Linked DNA regions of Homo sapiens: region 2 is linked to region 1. The links are contacts of gene promoters, found by promoter capture Hi-C in blood cells and fetal thymus (Javierre and others, 2016). All regions are on one chromosome and are shown on one strand. The core of a region is centred on a gene start or on the middle of the fragment in contact, and the rest is flanking DNA. Distances in the headings are between cores, read along the strand shown. Region 1 holds the start of RASGRF2 (Ras protein specific guanine nucleotide releasing factor 2). Region 2 overlaps RASGRF2 (Ras protein specific guanine nucleotide releasing factor 2).

Region 1 (5,914 bases), core at 1,299-3,798:
CTCTTGAAGATGAATAAAATGACTGAGAAATACTCATCATTTGCATGGTCATAAAAAGGGAAAACAATTTTTTCATTAGATGGCCTATTTAGGACAACCATTAGAAAGTGGCATGAAAGTCAAACTATTTGGAAGTTATGTTTCCTTATTAAAGTGCAAGAAAGAAAACAGTCTTGAAGATTACAGTCCAGATATTTTCCAAGTAGAAAAATGTTGGTTTCCATATAACATTAGCAAGTCAGAGAGCCATATGAATTGTAACAGGTAACAACTCCCCACCCCTAACTGAAAAAAAAAAAATCAAAAGTGGTTATCTTATATTAATATAAATATGAAGAAAACAAATAATTTGAGATTAAGTAAATGATATATATCCTGAGTAATTTAAAATACCCTATTCTACTTTAGACATAATAACATTTAGAAACCTATTCATTTTGGTTCCTGCGGGGCCTTGGAACACATACCTTAAAAAAAATCCCACCAATAGAATGTTACTTATATATATTCCTGAAAAAAAATGTTTCCTCAAAACTCTTCTCCCAATTTAAATTCTAAAATGCATGACTTGAAATTTATGTTTATATTTCTAGTATCTATATCTATAAAGTTGGAAATCAGTTTTTCAAATGACTCTGAACAAGCCCTCAGAAACTAAAGAGCATATTTAAACTTTCAGATTTATAAGTGTTATAACAAGTTTAATCACTTAAGTCTGTTAATGATTTATAGTGAAAACAACTCAAACTTCCGGTCGGTCTAGTTTTAACTCCTCTTAATTTTACACATTGTTTTATGAGCCCCAAAGGGTTAGGTAGGCATCTTACGGATCACTCCATTGCTAGCACCTCCCACAGCCTCTGTGGTGTGCGGTAGATGCTGTCTGATCTGAACTCACATGGAAAATTCAGCTGCGAATATTTTTACGCAACAGCAAAAACAATCAGCCTTTTTCATATCAAGGTGGGGATTGAGAAGCTAAATGAGAACATTAGGGGCATAAAATTAGTCTGCTTTAACTTTAATAACCAAACGGTGATTGGAAACATACAAACTTTGTGTTTGCAGGAATGAGGGGCTGGGATCACTAAGACTTAAAGGGTTTTTCTCCCCCACCCCGCGACCATGAGCACACAGCAAAACTAATAAAATTATGACCCAGAATTAAAAGGTCGCATTCATTTTCAAAGCATTCATTTAAAAGTACAGAAGCGTTCTTTAAAAATGCCCACATTTTTAAACATAGCAAGAATGTGGCTACCAAATATTAATCCTGAGGAATATGAATACACATTTACCTTCATAATTACACCCAGCAGGTCAAATGTTAGCAAGGCCAACTGACCGAAATCACAAAGACTGATTGAAAATGACCAACAGAAAGTGTCTGTCCGGCTTGGGAGCCCCGCTTGTTCCCAGCCCAACCAGTGGTCAAACATCTGCAGGCAAAGAAATCTACACGCGCCAGCCGGGTATGGCAGAAATCAAACTTTTCCAAATAAGTTAGTTCCGTCTTGCCAATCTACACCCAACAGGTGTCAATACATGTCACCAGACAAAAATCTGGCGAGCCAGGTCTAGAGAAGCAATAGATGGTTGGCAGAGAAGCTGAAACGACTCGACCTCTACCAGGGTAATGAAAGCAAGTCGGGCCACTATTCTGACTGATCACTTGGCAGTGGGGTGGAGGGGTATGGAGATGGGAGAATCCCTGGATGAAGATCGGAAGGAGCGTGGAGATGTCCCGCCACTGGTGACGCGGGGGGATTTCGGAGCATAGTCCCCGCACTCTTTCACGACCCCCGACCCCTGATCCCCGGATTAGGACGGCAAGGGAGTGCGGCGATCAAGGCTGGGAGACCGCGGAGAGAAGGCGCGCGGTACCTGCTTGTCCAGCGCGTCTCGGACGCCTCCCTGCCCGGCGCCGGCCCTGGGTGGCGCGGGCGTTCGTTCGCAGCTGCAGCCCTCCAGGAGGTACATGCCCGCCGGGCGGCAGCTCTGCTCGCCCTCGAAGTAGAAGAGCACATTCTGGTAGAGGGCGAACCACTTCTCGTGCCAGCGGCTCGCCTCGGCCGTCTTCTTACTCAGGAAGCCGCGCTTGGTGCCCTCCTTGCGCGCCAGAAAGGCCAGGTACAGGGCGTGCCCCTCGTTGTAGCGCACGCTCTTCTGCATGGTGCGGGTGCGGAGGGCTCACGGGTGGCCGCCGGTCTCACCCCTGCCTCGCGGCCATGGCCCAGCTGGCTCCCTCGAGGGCGCGACCGCTCAGGTCCCGGCCGGCGAAGGGCGCCCCCTTTCCCCACGCCGCGCGCAGGGCACCCCGCCCGCTTTCGGGAGGCCGCGGCGCGCGGTGGCAGGGGCGCGGGCTGGGGCCGAGGCACGCTCTCCGCCCTAACCACCACCCTCCCGGCCGAGCCCCCGGAGCCCCCCAAGCCCCCAACGCCCGCGTGGAGCGCGGCCCCGCGAGGGCGCCCGAGCCGGCCGCCGCTTCGCCCAAAGTTGCGGGAGCCGAGCCCCCGCGGCGGGCTGGGGCGGCAGCCGGGGAAGGACTGTCCTCGGGCAACGCGCTCCGGGAGACAGAAGGTAAAACGTCACGTGGGAGCTCAGCTGTAATCGGCTTGGAGACCGATTTAAAGGGCAAAGTCGGCGCGGCGCCGGCGGTGGCGCAGCCCGCTTGCCCCGGCTCGCGTCCCTCCCTCGCCCGCCCCGGCCCGGGCCGCTGCCTCTGCTCGGGCGCCCGCCGGGATGGGGCGGATCAGGGAGGTGGAGGCGCCCGGCCGCACCACACACCCGCTCACACGCGCTCGCACACTCGCGCACAACGCGCGCACACACACACGCACACCCACACACACGCAGACCAGTACATTCACCCAGATCCACAATGCACACACTCAGACGCACAAAAATACACTCACAAATGCACACAAACACAATGCGCGCACATATGCACAAAAACACACGCGCACACACTCATGACACACAAATACACATTCTCACAACGCTCACACTCAACACACAGTCACAACGCACAAATGCATATAGACAAATACACCCACAATGTGCGTTCCCGCGCACAAAAATAAAACCCACATTCAGATACACACTTAAGGAGCTACACACATGCACGCAGTGATATGCTCACTTACACACACATTCACACACAACCCACACATTCACTCAAACCCACATTCAAACATACATTCATACACACATTACACTCATACAGTCACACAAACAGCACACATATACTCACACGTTCACAATCATACAGACTCATAAGCAGATAATCAAACACACACACAGATGAACACACATGTACATTCACAAATTCATCCAAAAATACACACAAAGCACTCACACACGTATTCGCACGAATCCACACACTTTCACAAACCCACTCACACATACACACACACTCACATGCCACATCCATAAGTACGTTCCCATGGCAGTAGGTAGAGTCACAGAGTGGCTTTGCATAGCCCGCATCCTTGGCTTTTCTGCTTGTACCTGCATTGTAGTATTTAAAACTGCCGGTAAAGGTTAAGGAGAGTGGCCCAAGTGTTCCCGGAAAGGCATCAGATGCCGAAGTTCTTTCGGAATGCCTGTTATTTCACAGTGGTAAGATGCTAAATTTTAAGTGCCGAGTTTTCAACCTGGAAAAAAATACCCAAATAAGGGACACTTTGCTGCCCAGGGCAGAATCCAACCCCAAAGGCCAGCTGTCACAGGCTCATCGTTTGTAGGACTGGATTCATTTGATTAACAAATCTGACAGGTACAACCAGAAAACCAAGAGCCACCCCCCCGCCCCAACCCCATGCTGTAAAAATGTAAGTGGAAAAGAAATAATGTAGCCAGCAGCTGTGAGAGAAAGCCAGTGAAACCCCCGGGGAGGGCCTATATTTGATTCTGCTATACACATTTTTTATTTTCCCCAGTCATTTATCACTAAAACGGAGTGCCATCATAAAATGTTTATTGTTAAAAGTAAATAATAATGCTTTTCTGGGTGATGAGTCTACGACAATACACCTGTCTTGTACTGCCAGTTGTGTGTTCATGAATTGGTAGCCCCAGGGGTTCTGCCTGTTTCATAAGTGCTGTTTCTGCAGAATATTTTAACTCTGCCTCACTGAGCAGCTGAGTGGGGTTTTTTTTTCCTTTTACCTTTTTAAAAAATTTTCACTTTTAACAAGTATATAGTAGGGAAATTGCCATTTTGAAATTACAGCGTGAGAACAGTGGTCATTTCTCTTTACGTTTTTAAAAATATCTAAAGGACAGTGCTGTGCTAAATTGGGTTTAACCCAGCTGGAAGTTTGCATTGTTCTTCAGAGAAGACACAAGTACAGAGACAGTAAGTAAATGCAGGCAACATTTTGGAGCCAGATTCTAGATGCAGAGGAGCTGGTGATTGCCTCAGGAGGCCTTTTATTTCTTTCTCTGTGGTCCAATCCCAGCTGTGAGAACCGTAAGTGAGTAGACACCTGTGTGGTTGATAAGCTCCATTTTTTTAGTAGAAACCAGTAAGAGTGTGAAATCAGCACAAAAACTATTTTGCCATGAGTAGTCAAACCTTCTAACGCACTTGAGTTTTTTCAGATGTGAAAGATTCTCTTCTTCAATAAGCAATGTCTCAGTTACCATCTCTGTCTCCTTAAATGTGCTTTTCATTTGAACCACATGAAATATTCACAACCTCTTGTCTGACATCACTTCCTACCACGGAAGGTTATGTGGCCCTTATATGCCACCCCATCTGCTCTGCCCCTGGACAATGAGAGAAAGGAGTGCTTGTTTCCTGCAAAATTTGGCTGGTGATTACCGTGGGTTTTGATTATGGAAATTCACTGCAAGAACCATTTATTGATCACTAGTTTATGTCCTCAACACTATATTTAGGTGATGTAGAGCATATAGAGAAAAAGCATTGCCTGTGTTCCTGGTGTGCTCAGTGTAAGAGGAAGAGAATTTCTTTCTTTCTTCTTTTCTTTCCCTTCCTCCCTCCCTCTCTCTCTCTCTCTCTCTCTCTCTCTCTCTCTCTGTCTCTTTCTCTCTCTCTTTCTTTCTTTTTTTCTTTAGAGAGAGGTTCTTCCTCTGTTGCCCAGGCTGAAGTCATAGCTCACTGCAGCCTCAAACTCCTGGGCTCCAGCAATCCTCCTGCCTCAGCCTCCAGCGTAGCTAAGACTATGGGTGTGCACTACCACACCTGGTTAGGTTTTGTTTACTTTTTGTAGAGACAGAGGTCTCACCATGTTACCCAGGCTGGTCTCAAACTCCTGGTCTCAAGTAACCCTCCTGCCTTGGCCTCCCAAAGTCCTGGGATTGTAAGTACGACACCACCCAGCCAGGAAGAAGATTAATGTTTAGGTGCTTCTTCTCACCTGTCTGTTTCTCAAGTGCCGAGCTATCTCTGTAATCCCTGTAGCACCCAGTAGGAGAGTTTATATGCAGTAGGCATACAAGTTTTTCAGACAATTATTTTCTAAATTAATTTCTTATTTGGTCATTGAATTGTTAAAGAGGGCATAAGCATTTGCAAATATTAGATCATTCTGCAAGATTGTAAGAGATGAAAACAACCAGACATTCCTGGACAGCCTAGAGAAGCTATCTCTATTAGGTGTCTGATGGGCACCTGGGGGCCTTTAGTCTCCATTCATATGGAAACCACATCCCTGGAATGGTGCCATCCTGAAACACAAAGGATCAGGAGTTTATGTAAATAAGAATGCTTTCCCCCAGCTGATCAAATAGATTGCCAAAAAGAGACTGCGTTCCAAGTGGATGGGAACAAGCTTCTCTGAATTCATTGTTTTTCCTTCTTGCATTGCGTGGATTCTTTCTTGAGCGGGCCAGTTTAAAAAAATTTTTTATGGGCAACAAAGCATATGATCACAGTGCAAGTGGC
Region 2 (5,914 bases), core at 1,798-4,297, 86 kb before region 1:
GGAACTTGCTTTTATGTATTACTGGTGTAATTCAAAAGTAAGTATTAAATATGAACAGAAAGTTGAAGTTATATAAGGAAAGAAAAGCTTTGGAAATTCATTGTTGACCCAGGTGACAACAGTTATAGTAGAGTAGGGACAAAACCCACCAGGAAGAGCTGGAGAGAGGAAGAGCTGCGTGCCTAGGAGAGCAACCGAACCATTTCTTCAAGAAGCCGGGCTGCATGTGCAAGAGAAGACAGTAGCTAGAGGAGTATTCAGTGCCAAGAAAAGGCTTTAATTTCTCTTACAAGACAGGAGAGATTTTTAGGAGATCCAAAAAATACAGGAAAAAAAGGTAAGGAGCGAGGAATAAACAGACTGGAAATATAAGAGAGAAATGGAATAAGTAATGGAGCAAGAAATCAGAGAGAGAGCTCAAAGTAGAAATTTGTCTTGAACCGGGGATGGTTCTCCTGGAGCAGGCAAAGAGAATCATGAGGATGGCTCCCTCCTGCAGGTGAGATGGTGTGCGCATGAGGACGGGGCACCTGCCCGGTGAGTGTAGGCAGAAGGTCTGACTGCCTTTTCAGCTGGATGCTAAATGTGCAAGACAAGCACTTGAAACAAAAACACTGAGAAGTTGGAAAGACAGCTGACGAAAGTATTAACAAAGTATTAAAATAAGAAAATTCAAGCCCGACTTTTCCCTATAGAAAACAATTGTAACCATCAAATCAAGTGAAATATTTCACAGTTTAGTAGTTTAGTAGTATCCCTTCTCTTTCATGTTGCACTCTGTAGGCTGTAAAAGGAAAAAAAATGTTGAATTATCTTTCATTGTGGCAAATATGAAGGCAAAGCCCTGACAGAATTTCTTAGCAAATAATAATAATAATACCTTAAATGAACAAAATCCACATTTTCATCTTTAAAGTAGTGACAGTTTTACTGTTACAGGAAGAATACAAACTATGGTGTTGGATTGCTTTAGGCTATAACATCACTGTCCATCTCTAATTTTTCTAGTCTTGTGATGTTGCTGTGACACATGAAACATTTTCAGCTTTTCTATGTCATCACTCTTCTCTGATTTGTGAGGGATTTCTCTCTGTGTGCATTCTCTAAAGGGCTGATTTTAAGGGGAGGATATGATATACACAGCAGCCTTTAGTGCTGTACAGATTTTTATACTATATACCTTGCTGCAAATTAAGCCTTTTTCCAAGGATGAGACCACAAGCATTAGGTTCTGGGTGTTTGGTGCAGCTACCACACTGTGTGTGTGTGCATGTGTGTGTATTTTAAGGGAGAGAGAGAATGAACAACAGCTGTCTCAGACACAGGTAATCAAAAAGACTAAACATTAAAAACAGATCCAAGAGGCTGCATTACAGCTTTCTTTACTGGAAAAGAGAATAAGGCTTAATTGAAAGGTTTAACTGGATGATAAAGTCTCTCTGCTCGTCAGGTTGGAGACTGACAGGGTGAAACAAAGGGTTAGGTCAGGCCCTTGCCAAACACCATCTGACTGTGAGCTTTATGGAGTGGAAACATATTCCTTTTTGTAATTCTTTTTTCCTTTTGTATGCTCTGCCCTTAAAGGAAAACCTACGATCTGCCTGCTCAAGATACACCCTGAGGGGAGGGAAGAGAATCGAGGTGGAGATTTGAGCAGGTTCAGCTGAAGAAATCAGAAAGCAGGCAAAAGATAGTGGGACAGTTTCAAACACAGGACACACAAGCCATCTGCAGGGTGTGCAAAGCTACACACATTCAACAGTGCTCTGTGCTAGGCTCAACATTCTCAATATCTGTTTTCCCAATCCCTCCACCTTGGTAGAAACCCAAACTCTCCTCCCTCCTCAGGATACACCTTACTTCTCTATCAGCCCCCTGGATACTCATTCTCTCATACCCCACACGCCAAGGGATCAATTCAGTGTCTCACAGTTTCCTTCCTTTCCCAGCGATAATCATACTCTTCCAATTTCCAGCAGAAATTGCCCAACATTTCCTGGCCAATGCTCATCATCTTTGCCCACAAACCTGTCCTCATTCATCATTTCTTCTCCCAAAGAGTGACACCGTCCAAGCTAGGGGCCTGAGAGATGTGTTAGATGCCACCCTAGTCTAATACTGCTCAAATCCAGATAGTCACAAAGTCCCTTGAAGTCTACCCCCTACATCTCTGGAGAACCTTCCTCGTTTCTTCCCAAATGTCATAGTCTAGGTCCTGTGGGTATTAGGCTTAGTCAAGGATGGGAAGACCCTTGGAAGATATACAACTGGATCCATGTCCAGGCCATGACTATCTCCTAACTGCTGATACTTTGCTTGGTCCATGTTCTAGCAGATGAAACATTGAAGAGTTGTCTTTTCAGCTAACAAGCCCTAAGGACTCACAATCAACCAGGTCAGTTTTTGATTGTCCTAGTGTCTACAACTAAATCAACCATGATGGACACTTATGGACAAGAAAACAAAGAAGAAATATCAGGTTATTTTTTATGTCCAGAGTTCCATACTCAAGTAGCAACCACATAAAATAAGCATAGACTTAACTACTATGAAAAGGCTCTGGCCTCAACTCAACCAGACAAAAACAAGACTGGGTCTCGGTAGCAGCGTCCCCTGAACTAGTGCCATAACATGTGGTAAAATGATATCCTAAATGTGCCCGTGTTCTAGAAATGCAGTATTGGCCAATGGTAAGCAAAACATTAAAATGAGCTTCTTGGACTGGTCAAAGCTTCAAAATGAAAAATGTTAATTCCAAAACGATTTTTTTTTTCTGGGCCAGATCTAAAGGAGAAAACATGCAATGGGACATCCCAGAAAATGACCCTAAGATTCTCTGAAGGCAAAGTGGGGCAAGTAGATTCTGCTCTGAGATACGAAAGCCAACAGAACAATGTGATGTTCATAGCACACAAAGACAGCACACCCAGGCTGGTACTGAAAAGCCATCCCAGGAAAACAAAAGTAAATGAGAGAAGGGGTTCTGAGCAGTCTTTGTATCTAAGTGGCATCTACAGGAGGATTTGTAGCTCAGAAAAGAACATCTCATGCTAAACTAATCAAAAGTTTTGATTTTTTAAAAAAGGATCAATAAAACCATAAATATTGAGTATTTAAAACTTTTATATTAGAAAGGCAGCAGTACTGAATTAATGCCATCAGACTGTCTTTCGAGGGTGAAATGTTAAGTCAACCAACCATAATTAATTAATTGTGTTTTATTACAATGCCAAGCAAAAATGGCTGATAATTCTTGCTCTGAATCAGCTTCATTAACTTTCTGGCTTTGTTCATACATGAACAAAATCAAGGTGAATTTTGCAGATCCAAGTTTAAACCAAAAACTCAACTTAATCAAGCTTAGATAAAAAAGTTTTCTTCCCTGATTTAGAAAACAAAAATTTAAGAAATATCTCAATGCAAAACAGAAAATATAAAAACACAGTATAAAGCAGTCAGATTAAAAGAAATTATCAAAGAACCCAGTCCTAGGTCTCAAGTCAAGGGAAAAGCAAACCTAATGGACCAAAAAGTCAAAACATCAAGGGAAAAAGTCAATTATTAACCAAATCTTCAAATCTAAAAAGAAAAGAATTTTCACCATTGTATCATCTAAACCACTTAAGTGGTTTCTAAAGTCTGTCTCCTGACAACATCACACATGCCCTGGTTTTGACTGTATGTCAAACACCACCAAATAATTACTGACTCAGTTTCCTGTAGATGATAAAATGCATTCCTGGGACAGAAAAAAAGATTTCTTACTTGGAATCTAATCATCTTTAAAGCAATTTGCATTATTTGTGTTTGGTTCACCAAGATATTTGCTTGACAACTACAAAGGCATTTGGGCTACTGATGGTGCCTGCTCTCCTGGAATGAAAAAGATAGGAAAACAGGCATGTTTTAAATTATGTATTTTAACTCCTAGGTAGAAAGGAATAGAGATTGTAGAAAGGAAAAGATTGTGTCTGGAAATGACCCAAGGGCTCTACCTTGCCAGCTTGATGCTTCTTTCATCTTTGAAGGCCTGACTTTCTTTCTACAGCAAGTCATTCTGCATTAGTCCTAAGTCTGGATCAAAACCCTCAAACAGAGAGCACCAAGAGCAAGGACGGCTGAACCATGTGCCGGGGTCATGATGACTCGTGGCAAGCTCTCCTGGGGTCCACATGGAGAGTGGCACTTAGTTGCCAGCCCCATGCATCTCAGAGAAAGAAAAGGAACTGAAATATTTTGCAAATAACATCTTCTACTCTCAACCCTAGTCTCACATTAATCTACTTTCGTCTTTGAATGAGGAAAAGAAAAAAAAAATAGAACAAGAAAAGACTGTAGTGATAAAGAGGATAACGAAGATAAGTACAATATTGAACATTAGCTAAAGGTTCTGAAGTCCAAACCCAATTCAACTTGGGTTTGAATCCCAGATCTGCAGCTTAACAACTTTGTGTTAGAACTTGGCCAATATGCCTGTCACAAATTTTTGTTTTCTCCTCTGTAAAATGGGGATAATAATATCCTATTAGCTTATTGTGAAGAATAAAAAAAGATAAGTACATAAAACACTTGGCACACTGCTTGTCAGAGAAGGTGGTAAATATAAGTAGCTGAAGAGGGTAGGGAGAATAGAGGTGAGACGAGGGAAGGGGAGGGCAGACTTTCAGAGAAAGCGTCAAGGGTTCAAAGAACAGCCTGAACTCACTCAGAATAAATACCTCATTGTGTGTGTGGTTTTTTTTTAGATGGAGTCTTGCTCTCTCCCCAAGACTGGAGTGCAGTGGTGTGATCTTGGCTCACTGTATCCTCCAACTCCCAGGTCTGAGCAATTCTCCCACCTCAGCCTCCCAAGTAGCTAGGACTACAGGCGTGTGCCACCATGCCCGGCTAATTTTTATATTTTTAGTAGAGACGGGGTTTCACCATGTTGGCCAGGCTGGTCTCAAACTCCTGGCCTCAGGTGATCTGCCCACTTCAGCCTCCCAAAGTGCTGGGATTACAGGCATGAGCCACTGTGCCCAGCCTAAATGCCTCATTCTTACAATCAAACTGAAGAAATCTCCTGATCACCTACTACATAATTAGCAATGCGCTTCACTCAGACATGAATGTGCCCCAATCCCTCTCCTCATTCTCAAGGTGTATACAATCCCACTCAGGAAACAGAAATCTAACACATTCACTATATTAAAAAAGTAATGATAACCAGAATTGCTAAATCGCCCACGTGCAGTACACAATGCAAGTGCTGCAGCCATTTGAAGAGGGCGCCAGTGAGGGCTGACTTGCAGGGAGATGTCTCAGGGCGGGAGTGGTAGAGGGAGGAACAGACAGATGGAGAAGGGAAGGCTCATCAGGTGAAGAAAAAGAAAGCATGCCACAGCTAGAGTGTTGCCCCAAAATACCCAAGAGATGAGCAAGACAAGAGAGCAGGGAGTAGTGGAGCAACAGCCTGGATTAGGGAGTGGACAGGCAAAAAGCAAGAGCTTGAGAGCCATGGGAAACAAAACTGAACCAGGTTTAGGGATTGAATAGGAAAATAAGAGAGAGGGACCTGCCTTGTATCTCTTTCAGATTTCTAGTTCCCGTTTAAGACCCTGTACACACATTTCCACCTTCCTGATGTTTCTTAGGGGGAAGCGAAATCACAGTGTTCTATTTCTTTAAATAGAGGATGTCATCCCCTTCTTTTGATAACCGAGGTGCACAGAGCAGGGTTTACAAATGTAGGCTAGGCTAGGGCCATATCCCAGCTCTGTGGCTTACTAGCTGTGTGACCTCAGGCAGGAAAACTAACTTTCCAGGCCTCAGTTTCCTTATCTGCAGACAGGGGGAATTATAATGCCCCTCTTGCCGATTGTTGACAGAGTGAGTCAATACATTCAATACATTCTGTAATTGAAAAGCACATATA

The links. Contacts are between HindIII fragments. The CHiCAGO score rates a contact against its expected background, and 5 or more counts as called.
Region 2: a contact is called between a fragment that was not itself captured here and the fragment with the promoter of RASGRF2 in region 1, in 3 of 17 cell types (non-activated CD4 T cells, activated CD4 T cells and naive CD4 T cells). The highest score is 7.6, in non-activated CD4 T cells.

Annotation. Positions count from the first base shown.
Region 1 is chr5:80,956,997-80,962,910 of GRCh38, reverse strand. It overlaps RASGRF2 (Ras protein specific guanine nucleotide releasing factor 2), which reads right to left and starts at 2,548. Exons shown (of 27, transcript NM_006909.3): 1 at 1,885-2,548. The coding sequence starts at 2,172. RASGRF2-AS1 (RASGRF2 antisense RNA 1) reads left to right here and starts at 2,004. Exons shown (of 4, transcript NR_105015.1): 1 at 2,004-2,130. RefSeq lists enhancers at 1,724-2,445, 5,536-5,914. The HindIII fragment of the contact is 16,452 bases long and covers 1-5,803 here.
Region 2 is chr5:81,043,246-81,049,159 of GRCh38, reverse strand. All of the region lies in intron 2 of RASGRF2 (Ras protein specific guanine nucleotide releasing factor 2), which reads right to left. Among named protein-coding and RNA genes, the nearest start is that of RASGRF2-AS1, 85 kb to the right of the region's middle. The HindIII fragment of the contact is 628 bases long and covers 2,734-3,361 here.